Regions from separate parts of the Homo sapiens genome. Here region 1 is linked to region 2. The links are contacts of gene promoters, found by promoter capture Hi-C in human tissues and cell types (Jung and others, 2019). All regions are on one chromosome and are shown on one strand. The core of a region is centred on a gene start or on the middle of the fragment in contact, and the rest is flanking DNA. Distances in the headings are between cores, read along the strand shown. Region 1 holds the start of ARHGAP40 (Rho GTPase activating protein 40). Region 2 holds the start of RALGAPB (Ral GTPase activating protein non-catalytic subunit beta).

Evidence for each region. The method cuts DNA at HindIII sites, captures the fragments that hold promoters and counts their contacts. A contact is called where the count stands out against the background at its distance.
Region 1: the fragment with the promoter of ARHGAP40 here is called in contact with the fragment with the promoter of RALGAPB in region 2 in 1 of the 25 tissues and cell types used here (heart right ventricle).

The regions. Positions count from the first base shown.
Region 1 is chr20:38,596,811-38,603,099 of GRCh38, reverse strand. It overlaps ARHGAP40 (Rho GTPase activating protein 40), which reads right to left and starts at 1,291. Exons shown (of 15, transcript NM_001164431.3): 1 at 1,021-1,291. The coding sequence starts at 1,157. RefSeq lists an enhancer at 2,169-2,710. The HindIII fragment of the contact is 9,850 bases long and covers 1-5,818 here.
Region 2 is chr20:38,470,820-38,476,952 of GRCh38, reverse strand. It overlaps RALGAPB (Ral GTPase activating protein non-catalytic subunit beta), which reads right to left and starts at 4,110. Exons shown (of 30, transcript NM_020336.4): 1 at 3,884-4,110. RefSeq lists a silencer at 3,830-4,029 and an enhancer at 4,320-4,389. The HindIII fragment of the contact is 4,688 bases long and covers 2,952-6,133 here.

The DNA.
Region 1 (6,289 bases), core at 42-2,541, 130 kb before region 2:
CCTGCTGCAGGTGTGTTCCAAGCTAGAACACTTTTGGAGGGCAGGGTCTATTCAGATTCTAACATTCCTTTTAAACTTGCAACTACAAGTCTAGGATGTGAATTTTACCCATGCAAGTCCCCAGAGATGTTCATTGCTGTATTGCTTAGAATCGTTAAAAATTGGAACCAACCTAAATGTCCATTAGCCAGGAACTGATTCAAATTAACCAAAGATATCCATAAAGTTGGATCCTGGCAGGCCACTAAAGTGAATGAATTGGATCTTTATGTTACTGACATGTAAATATGTCCATAACATTAATTGAGGGGTTGCAGGGGAAAACCTTACAAGCACATGTAACACAAGAGCCTATTTGTGTAAAACTATACAAGTTTAGGTTTACATATGTCAAAAAGTTCTCCCAAGGTATATGTCAAAACTTTAACAGTAGTAAGTTTTCAAGAATGAACATATGTATTCCTGTACAGTATTCCTGCACTGTTTGACTTTCTATAATAATCAAATTGTAATATGATGTAATCAGAGTGGGGGAAATGACTATTTGAAAATTCTGGTCTGGCTGTCAGTGGCAGGCTGAGCAGGAATAAGGGGTGACCAGTTCTCAGCCGAGGTGACCACACGGCCACACTGACCCAGAAACTTGACCCAGAGACTCCTGAATCTTGAGCCCCTGGGCCCCCTAAGACTCTACACCCAGAGGAAGAGGAAATGGCACATACTGGCGTCACTCACGGTCTCTAAGAATCTGAAAATCAGTGACCCCTGCAGGAGGCCAGTAGCCTGAACCCAGGGCAATGCTGTGTCCCAGGAAGGCTCTGGGTTTGGAGTCCCATGGACTAGGGCTAAAAGCCATCTCCACCACTTGACAGCCAGGTGACCGGGCTCTCCAAGCCTCTGTTTCCTCATCTGTACGATGGAGGAAGATTCTTGCCTCACAGGGATGTTGTGAAGACAGACCGCACATGCCCCTGGTGCATAGTAGGGCCAACTTCCCTCCCGCTCCCGTGACCCCTGTACCTGCAGCCCAGGTCGGCCCAGCGCTGGGCGCAGCGCCTGGCAATGCGGGCCCGCGGGATCCGAGGACACGGTGAGGCTAGGGGCCCTGGGGCCAGCCTCTCCATCTGGGCGGCGGGGAGGAGGGCAGGCTCGGCCATGGGCTGGCACCTCGAGGATCCCGGTCGGTCGTGGTGCTGCCGCCGTGGGGCTGACTCGATCGGCAATGTGAGAGGGAGGAGTGAGGTAGGGCCCCCGTGGCGCACCCAGTTCCCAGACACCCTCATGCAGGACTAATGTTCAGCCTCCTCCTGGGGCGGGGCTGGCTTGGCCGGGGCCACCTACAGGCAGGCACTCGCCGCACACACACACACCACTGAGTCCCACCCGCCTGCACTGGAACTGCGAGGTGGAAACGGCGCCTTTCAAAAACTGTCATGAAATATGATTTGCATGGCCACTATTATTACCTACAGCCATCCCGATTTCAGAGTAAAACCACATGAATAAAGCACCTGGCTACTATGGGTGGAAGAACGTGCTCACGACCCAGGGGTTTTTATCTGGCTGGGCTATTCCCTCTGAGGCTTCTCTGAGCCTCGGTTTCCTCCTCTGTGAAATGGGGATGGTGACATTTGCCAGGAGACAGGAAAAAAGCAAGCAGGAAGATGTCAGGGTGTAAAGAGAGCAGGACCTGGGCACGGGGGCGGGAGGATAGGAAGGGAGCAGGAAATGGGAGTGGCAAAGTGAGGGGGCGTCCGGAGAGCCTCCCGGGATTGGTCTTTTGGCTGGGATGTAAAGGAGGAGGAACTAGCTGGGGAAAGGCTGGGTAAGGGGAAAACCCAGGGAATTTAACCCCCTCTTCTGTAAAATGAGAACTCATTCATTCACTTAGCAAATCTTTATGGAGCTCTGTAGGGGCCCTGGGGGAAGGCGACCAGAGTGTCTGAAAGCAAAGAGCAGGAGAGTGTGGACTCAGCTGAGAGGAGAGCAGAGGCTGAGTGTCAGGGTGGGGAGTGGGAAGGGGTTTCCAGGTGCCAACAAGGACACAAGCCAAGGTGTTGCAGTAGGGCATTTGGGGAACGTATGAGAAGCGCTCCTGCCAGCTTCCCTGGCGGTGTCCTATTCCCTGCATCCATTTTGGACCATGAGCCCCTTCTCTTGCCCTCTGGCCAGGACTGAATGCCATAGACTTCCCCAGATTGCCCGGGCCCGCCCTGCCCTCCTCTAAGCCTCCGGGTGTCAGTGAATCTTTCCAGGAAGCATATTCACCTGTACTCCAAGAAGAGAGGCCCCAGAGTCCTCATCAAGGAGGGCCCCCAAGTCTATGGGTCCCCACAGTCTGAAGCTCTGTTCTGGCCTTAGGGAGGCAAGAAATGGGCCCCAAGAAACTGAAAACAGGGCCCCACGGGAGCCATAGAGCCCAGGAGCATGCATGGTTCTGGCATTAAAGACGGGAAAGGCCTCGCAACACAAAGGGTCCTGAAAAACCCCAAGTTTCAGGTGGCTGTCACTGGCTGGAACCTGCAGACCAGGGCTGTGCAGAAGACCACCCATCCACTTCTCCTGAGCCTCCTCCTGAGGAGGAGACAAGGGAACCATGCCACTGTGAGGCCAAGGAGCTGGGGTCCAATATGTAGGTGAATTGTCAGCCGAAGTGGGTGCAGAACTACTTTGGGAGCCATAGGGAGTTTTGGGTGGGAAACATGGTAGGTGCTTAATAAAGGTTGGGTGGATGGATGGATAGATGGATGCATAGATAGATGGAAGAAAGAATGAAAGATTGGTTGGGAAAATGGGGGATGAGAGAAGGGATGAATGGGAAGGCAATTGAATAAGAGGTTGATGGTTGGTTTGATGGGTGGATGGATGGATGGATGGATGGATGGATGGATGGGTAGGTGGATGGGTAGGTGGAAGAGTGAATGGCTGTGGGCATGAATATGTGAGAGCATGAGTGAATGAATGAATCAGTGAGCCATTAGGTGAATGGGGGGAAGAGTAAATGAGTGAATGAATGAATAAATGCTTGAGTGAGTAAACAAGTTAGTACCTGGGTAAATGAACTTCTAGTCCAGACTGAAAACATAGTTCATTGTTACCTTCCTTAGGTGCAAGGAACCTTTCAGAAGAAAGCAGGAAGGAAGAGAGAGTGGCCTGAATCTTGGATGACCACACTTTCAAGCCTCTGTAAGGAAGTGCCCTCTTCGCTTCCGGGAGAGCCGCGCGTATACTCAGAATGAAGCCTGGAGAAGTGAGTGTACCCACGCTCAGGGCAACATTCCTCACCCCCGGCTGAGCCCTGTCCCAGCCCCCCACCTGCAGTATCGGCCAGGCCGGTTAGGTCACAGTGGAGTGGCTCAGACCTGTTGGCCCTGCACCCTGGCAGCTCGCCAGCACCTCCCCAGGCAGCCTGCCATCAGCTAGGCCTCTCACTATCGCAGAGACTCATTCCAGGTCCCTCAGACCCAGAAAGCCCCCCAGGGCCTGTGTGCTGTGTGCTCAGCATTTCCTCCCTGGCTTTCTGCCCCTCCAAGCAGCCCCCACTCCACACTACAGCACAGTCCTATGTAGTGTGATGAGGTGGAGCCTCATAGGCTTCAGGCTGATCCTCAGCTCTGCCACTTAGGCTGTGTGACTTCAGGCAAATGCCTTAACCTCTCTCAGTCACAGCTTCCACATCATTTAAATGAAAACCTTGCCTGGCTTGAGGGGTGGTTGTGAGGATTTGGTGGGATAATACACATCAAGCACTTAAATGGGGCCTGGCACACAATGTACATAGAGCATCTAATTTCCAGGTGCTCAGCTTCTTCCTTTTTCTTTTCTGAGACTGGCTCTCACTGTATCACCCAGGCTGGTGTGCAGTGGTGTGATCACAGCTCACTGCAGCCTTGACCTCCTAGGCTCAAGCGATCCTCCAGCCTCAGTCTCTGGATGGAGCTAGGATTTACTAGGCGTGTGCCACCACACTCAGCCATTTTTATTTATTGTTTTGTAGAGACAGGGGTCTCACTATGTTGCCCAGGCTGGTCTCAAACTCCTGGCTTCAAGTGATGCTTCCACCTCCGCTTCCTAAAGTGCTGGGATTACAGGCATGAGCTACCATGCCCAGCCAATTTTTTCTTTCAAAAGTAATTTATGGAATGAAGTGCCAGCCAAGCACTGTGATCACAGCTTTACATGCATTACCACATTCAATCCTCATGATAAACTCTCAAGAGAGTGTTATGGGTTCAAGTGTCCTACCAAAAACATATGAAAAACATGTGAATGCCTAAGCCCCAGTAGCTCTGAATGTGACTGTCAGGCCTCTGAGCCCAAGCTTAGCCATCATATCCCCTGTGACCTGCACGTACACATCCAGATGGCTGGTTCCTGCCTTAACTGATGACATTCCACCACAAAAGAAGTGAAAATGGCCTGTTCCTGCCTTAACTGATGATATTATCTTGTGAAATTCCTTCTCCGGGCTCATCCTGGCTCAAAAGCTCCCCTACTGAGCACCTTGTGACTCCCACTCCTGCCCGCCAGAGAACAACCCCCCTTTGACTGTAATTTTCCTTTACCTACCCAAATCTTATAAAACGGCCCCACCCCTATCTCCCTTTGCTGACTCTCTTTTCGGATTCAGCCTGCCTGCATCCAGGTGAAATAAACAGCCTTGTTGCTCACACAAAGCCTGTTTGGTGGTCTCTTCACATGGATGCACATGAAATTTGGTGCCATGACTAGGATCAGGGGACCTCCCTTGGGAGATCAATCCCCTTTCCTCCTGCTCTTTGCTCCGTGAAAAAGATCCACCTATGACCTCGGGTCCTCAGACCCACCAGCCCAAGGAACATCTCACCAATTTTAAATCCGCTAAGCAGCCTGTTTTTACTCTCTTCTCCAACCTCCCTCACTATCCCTCAACCTCTTTCTCCATTCAATCTTGGCACCACACTTCAATCTCTCCCTTCTCTTAATTTCAATTCCTTTCATTTTCTGGTAGAGACAAAGGAGACACGTTTTATCCATGGACCCAAAATCCCGGCACCGGTCATGGACTCGGGAAGGCAGCCTTCCTTTGGTGTTTAATCATTGCAGGGATGCCTCTCTGATCATTCACCCACATTTCAGAGGTGTCTGACCACACAGGGACACCTGCCTTGGTCCTTCACTCTTAGCAGCAAGTACCACTTTTCTGGGGTACAAGAATCCCCCAACTCCCTCTCTCCGTGTTCTACCCCTTCTTTGCTTTTCTGGGGGGCAAGAACCCCCCGATCCCTTATTTCCACGCCCTGACCTCTTATCTCTGTGCCCCGATCCCTTATTTCCATACCCCGACCTCTTATCTCTGTGCCCCGATCCCTTATTTCCATGCCCCAATCCCTTATTTCTGTGCCCCAACCTCTTGTCTCTGTGCCCCAACCCCTTATTTCTGCGCGCTGACCCCTTTCCCGCTTTTCTGGAAGGTAAGAACCCCCGAACCCCTTCCCTCCATGTCTCTACTCTCTCTTTTCTCTAGGCTTGCCTCCTTCACTATAGGCAAACTTCCACCCTCCATTCCTCCTTCTTCTCCCTTAGCCTGTGTTCTTAAAAACCTAAAACCTCTTCAACTCACACCTGACCTAAAACCTAAATGCCTTATCTTCTTCTGCAACACTGCTTGGCCCCGATACAAACTTGACAATAGCTCTAAATGGCCAGAAAATGGCACTTTCAATTTCTCCATCCTACAAGACCTAAATAATTTTTGTTGAAAAATAGGCAAATGGTCCCAGGTGCCTTACATCCAGACATTTTTCACACTTCGTTCCCTCCCTAGTCTCTGTTCCCAATGCGATTCCTCCCAAATCCTCCTTCTTTCCCTCCCGCCTGTCCCCTCAGTCCCAACCCCAAGTGTCGCTGAGTCTTTCCAGTCTTCCTTTTCTACAGATTCATCTGACTCTTCCCCTCCTCCCCAGGCTGCTCGTCGCCAGGCCGAGCTAAGTCCCAATTCTTCCTCAGCCTCCACTCCTCCACCCTATAATCCTTCTACCACCTCCCTTCCTCATACCCGGTCCGGCTTACAGTTTAGTTCCGCTCTTCCCCACCTACCCACAATTTCCTCTTAGAGAGATGGCTGGAGCTGAAGGCATAGTCAGGGTACATGTACCTTTTTCTCTGTCAGACCTCTCTCAGATCAGCCAGCATTTAGGCTCTTTCTCATCAGACCCCACTAAACATATACAGGAATTCCAATATCTAACTCTGTCCTACAGTTTAACCTGGAGTGACTGAAATGTCATCCTGACTTCTACCCTCTCCC
Region 2 (6,133 bases), core at 2,861-5,360:
TATCCTCAACTTATTATTTTCAACTGTACCAGGGTGTGAAAGTGATATGCGTTCAGTAAAAACCGTACTCTGATTATCCACATAACCATTGTTTTTCACTTTCAGTACAATATTCAATCAATTACATGAAATATTCAACACTTTATTATAAAATAGGCTTTGTGCTAGACAATTTTGCTCAACTGTACGCTAATGTAAATGTTCTGAGCATGTTTAAGGTAGATGAGGCTAAGCTATTCTGTTCAGTAGGTATATTAAATGCATTTTTGGCTTACGATCTTCTCAACTTTGATAGGTTTATTGGGAAGTAATCCCATCATAAGTCGAGGGGCCTCTAGATATCTAATTGAGTTTCTCAAACATAGCAGATCACTCTCTCCCCTTCCCTATCCCATGCACACACAGACAGGCAAACACAACACAACAATACACAAGACAACCTTTCTCATGGGGAAGGGGTCGGGGGCGAAAGGGGACACCGTCCAGAGGAAGGAGGCCTGCTTTCTAGTCCTGGAGGTGCTAGAAGCTAACCATGTAGCCTTGACCAAGTTACTTTCCGCATCTATAAAAAGTTAGAATGAAACTCCATGCACCTTAATTTTAAAACTTAAATCATCTCGCACCAAAGAAAATCAACTATTCTGCCCAAAAAGTCTTTGCACATGTCAGGAAACACACCTGCTAACACTGATGAGTACCTCGTATTAAACAGAATCCATTTCTAGGTCCCAAGCTATCATGATTAGAGTCACTTTTGTTCTCTGAGCATGTGGAATTTTTCACCTTTACTTTGGGGCACAACTACAGACTTAAACCTTCAGCCTTAAAGATTGAGTTTCTTCCATGTGCTAAAGCAAGAACTGGATACTGTGTCCCTATCTGATCAGACACACAAGGACAAGTTTCTTGAGTATCTGAATTTAACATAAGTTGTCCCATCAGTTTCTATTAGTGCTAAGCCTAAAAACTGACCAAATAATACAAAACGGAACCAAGAAAATTTTTCTATAACAATCCTTATAAAGAATATTTTATGGGCTGGGGACGGTGGCTAATGCCTGTAATCCCAGCACTTTGGGAGGACTAGGCAGGCAGATCACTTAAGGTCAGCAGTTCGACATGAACCTGGCCAACATGGCGAAACCCCCTCTCAACTAAAAATACAAAAAAATTAGCCAGGTGTGGTGGTGGGTGCCTGTAGTCCCAGCTACTCAGGAGGCTGAGGCAGGAGAATCGTTTGAACCCAGGAGGCGGAGGTTGTAGTGAGCTGAGATTGCGCCACTACACTCCAGCCTGGGGGACAGAGCGAGACTGCATCTCAAAAAAAAAAAAAAGAAAAAAAAAATTTTATGAAATGTGTTTTTAATTCAGTCTACATACTTTGTCATGTTTAATTGCTATACAAAAAAAAATCTTTATTGTCCAAAAACCTCCTCATAATGACCTTCACACACATATTCACTAACTTTTGCAAATCCTTACATGGTTTTAAGACCAACCAAGAACAAATCCAATCTGAATTATTGGTCTGCCTTCCTTTAAACTTGTAAATATGGCAAATGGGGCAATGGCAGTTCAGGCATTCTGCAATAAATATGTGCTAAATTTGTCAATTCCTGTGACAACATGATTTTACTCTTCATTAAGTACTTAACGTCCTCTCTCCTGGTGAACAGGACCAAACATTACCAATGGCAATCCCATCTGCTTGTATTTACCAAATACCAACAAGGCAGTGGCATTTAGTGGATGACAACTAAACACTTTTTTGGACAATGAAGTAGGGAACACATGCAAAGGTCTAACAGTAATAAAAAGACTTTCCCTACAGACATGATTGCGTCCGATTGTGATAGAATCAGACATTAAAAATCAAACAATGTTGATTGCACATGGTTAGTTACAGAGTGCCTTGCAATTGGTAAGAACTCAATGTGTGTGTTCAACTGCTGGACAAATTGCTGAACATAACTAGAATACTCACTCCTAAGCAAAAAGAACAAAACTCTATAAGCTGGGAACTACCAAACATCTTTTACAAAAATGGAAATAGAGAAGAATCTGTTCGCAACATGATCTATCTATGACATAAAAGGACCCAAACATTCCACTGAGTAAAAGCTTTGTGAGTCTGTATGTCAAAGCACTGGAAGGAATACAGAGATGAAGAAAACATAGTCCCTGCCCTAAAGCTTCTCATAATCTAGAAGTAGGGATAGAACTACAACTCAGAAAAATAACTGATAAGTTTCACTACGATGTTCCTAAAGAGCAAATTGGAAGGACTCAAGGTGGGTAGGGGTCAGGGACAGAGGTATCTTGAAGGGAATGCTTAAAGCTAATGCAGCCAGAGACAGGAAGAAAAGGGTATGTAGGCCTGGCACAGTGGCTCGCATCTGTAATCCCACCACTATGGCAGACCATAGTGGGTGGACTGCTTCAGCCCAGGAGTTTGAGACCAGCCTGGGCAACATGGAGAAACCCCATCTCTACAAAAAAAATTCAAAAATTAGCCAAGCGTGGTAGTCCCAGCTACTTGAGAGGCTGAGGTGGGAGGACTGCTTGAGCTCAGGAGGCGGAAGTTGCAGTGAGCCAAGATCATGCCACTGCATTCCAGCCTGGGCAACAGAGCAAGACTCTGTCTAAAAAAAAGAAAGAAAGAAAAGAAAAGGGTGTGTATATGCATATAGGAGAGAGCAGAAGTGTGTGCGTTTGGGTGGGATGGCCAGAACGTTCAGAGGATGGTCTAGGCAGACTTCCAGCATATGTAAAAACGACCCAGAGGTTACAGACGCTACACCTATAAGTACTGTATATTTAGGAAAATTGCAAACGAGCAGTTTGCATAAGATGCATACATTTTAAATGTTCCAGATGACTCAGAATCCCTGCAGAGAATTCCATCCCTAACAGTCTTTCACAAGGTGTAGTGGTCAGTCAACCTAAAGATCTCTGCGGGTGGAACCTGCAAGTTTAACAAGCTCCCAGACAATTCTCCTGCACACTTAAGCTGGAGAAAGAGAGATGCTTTTTGAGATGCAGAATTATCAAATTACATGCGGTTCCCAAACTTTGCTGCAAGCTGGAATCACTTGGGCATCTTTAAAAAAAAAATATTGAAGTCTGGCTTTCAACTCCAGACATTCTGATTGTTTTGGTCTGGGATGCCACATGGGCATCAGAAACCTTTACAATTTCCCCCAGGTGATTCTACAGTGTAGCAAAGTTGGAGAGCCACTGCCCTAATTGTTAAGCACTTGGGTCGGATGCTCCGGTTCAAATTACTAGCTATGTGACCTTGGGTAATTAAGTCACCCAACCACCCAGGGACTCAGTTGCCTCGTCAGTAAAATGGGGACAACAATCCTACCTCACAGGGTTGCTGTGAAGTTAGACGTGGAGAACGTAATGGCCTGGCATGATGCCTGGCGGATAAGAAGCGCTTAATGGGGGTTAGCTGTTTACTCCCATCATCAACTCTCCCTCATCAAAGTGTCACTGTGCAATGGGCAGCATCGTCCCCACTGGGCGGCAGCAACTTGCCTAACCTTTCTGCTGGACCAAATTCTTTGCGGGAGTTGTCTAGCTCCGCTCCAGACCCGCCCCCTCCCCCAGGTTGCCAGGAGAGAGCTTCGCCTGGCCGGGGTAGCTCCCAAGGATTAGACCGGGTTTACACAGACTCGACAGCAGCCGCCCACTCCAGGGCCAAGCTTTCCCCGCCCCCGTGGGTCTCCCAAAAATTTGCAGATGAGCTTCCAAAGGCCGGGCCCCTGGAGCACCCAGAGCCGAGAAACAAGCCTCAGCCGTCCCTTGACCGCCAGGTGGGGAAGAGAGGGAAGGAGAGGGGAGGGTCCGGCCGCGGCGGGGCCGGCTGCCCGGTTACCTGAGGCGACGGGCGGGGCCCGCATCGCCGGGGCGGGCGCCGCCGCCGGCCGTCCTCGGCCTTCCGCCTCACGCGACCCGCGCCATAGGGCTGGCGCTTTCACCGCCCTGGCCGGCCGTCCTCAGGCGGTCCGTCAGTCCACCCGTCAGCGACTCTCCCAGGGCGCCAAGGGACGACGAAGGCCACTCGAGCCAGCCGGCTGGGATCTGCTCAGGCAACTTCCGACTGCCAGGGGCGGCGGCGTCAAATAACTCCCCAGCCAAGTGGGCCACTGCGCGTGCGCGGTGCGCCTAATCAGAGCTTTCTACGGGGCTGAACCGGTGGCGTCAAATAATTCCCGAGACACAGAGCCGGAAGCTGCGCCTGCGCAGCTATCCCAGATCGCCGCGCGGGACGCATTGCGTTCCTCCCATTCCGGATCAAGTGGAGAGGGAGGAGTGAAGTGACGGATGCACCTACCTCATCGCGGCACAGAGGAGGCGCTCTACCTGCGTCCTTAGGAATCTTACGGCATCCACTCTACCTGCTTTCGGTGCAGACGGATAAGGGGCTTCTCTGCAAGATTCTGGCTCCCACCTAGGTTCTAGGAATTTCTCCCATCCCACCATTACAGCACTCTTCCTCTGAAATGATGCCCTTTGCTCGCCGCCGTCTTATTACACGGGCACAGCATTAATTATGAACAGTGCTCTATTCCAGGCCCGGTGTGGGTTACAAAGGTGAATCGAACATAAGATTTAGAGCCTCTCATTAAAGAGCTGAATCTGATCGAGATAAGACAGTAGTAATAATACTAAGAGATACTACTTCGAGCACCTGCCATGCGCTAGACATTTTGTAAACAGTACCACTTTCAATAATTTGCTTTCACTTCAACGAAGAAAATAATACCATTGGAGAGGTACAGCTTAAGTGCTTTGAGAATCTAAAGGAGGAAACTTGGACTGAGAAAGAAGAGGAGGGAGGGATGGTGGAATTCTTCACGGAGGACCTGGCCTTGAGACTGACCTTGGGTATTGAGAGAGGGAGGAGGGGTCAGGGTGTTGAGTAGAGGTGAAGGCACGGTTGTCTGAAAAGCAGAAGGGAGCAAAGAAGATTCTGACTCCTCACCTCAGTTAGAAGAGACTATGGAGGAATGAGTGATAAGGGAACTAGTATCCTCACAGAAAGGGTAAAACTGAAGAGTGTTTCCTCAAGACCACACCTCACCCCCCAGAAAAATAGCTACAGGAAGGAAGAGGGAAAAGGAGGGTAAGAATGTGCTAGGACAGGAACGAGGCTATGTCCAGGACACTGGATCCAAGCAATACATTTCAATTAAACACAGTGTGACAAATTATGTAGTTGGCTAACTCAAGATCTATTTCAACCACTCCCTTGCCTTTCTATACTACAGGGGCTGAAAAGCAAAGCACACAACTCTCAACTTTCTTTGCTGCTAAGGGTGGCAGTGAGACAAAGTCCTGGCCACTGAGATGTAGGCAGAAGTATCAAAGGAGACCTTCCCTTCCTTCTTCCCTTGGAGAAGTTTGTGTCCTTCACTTTTCCCCTGCTTCATGCTTGGAACTGGGTAACACCTGGGAGCACAGCAGCCTAGAGGCCATGAGGAGGGCTGTGCTGAGGAAGGTGGAGCAGAAAGACAGGAGCCTGTTTGTTTAAGTCATACTCAAGCAGCTACACAAACCCTGTACTACCTTCCTGTCTTATCGGGATGAGGGATCTTATATATACCAGAGTTTGTTGAGTTTTATGTTACTTGCAACCAGATGCATTCTAACACAATTAATACTGAACCCCTGTAACAGACAAGGGAGGGGTGACTAACTGGAAGAACAACGGGTGATGGGAATTGGAAAAGTGACAGGCACAGAGGATGGGAAAGCTGTCCCAAAGCCCTTGGGGAGATGATGAAAATACAGCTATCACCCTTCTAGTGGTTTCAATTCATTCCTGAAATTCTGCTTCTAAGTGGAAAGCTGTTAAATTTTTCCCATTAATTAAAATGGGCAAAATTGTGTTCAATTCCAGCCTAAGGCACCTAAATATTTTTAACAGAAAAAATATATTGATGCAACAGAAAATTATACAAACAAATAATTTTGCTTAAAATATGGTTTTTACATAACATGTAAGGCAGTAAGACTTACTGCTCTGGACAGAAAGACAAGATTTAATATTAGGTGCAAGTTGGTGGAGGAGAGATGCAAGTGAGTGGTTCTCTAAATGATGGTTTGTTTTTTTAAGACACAG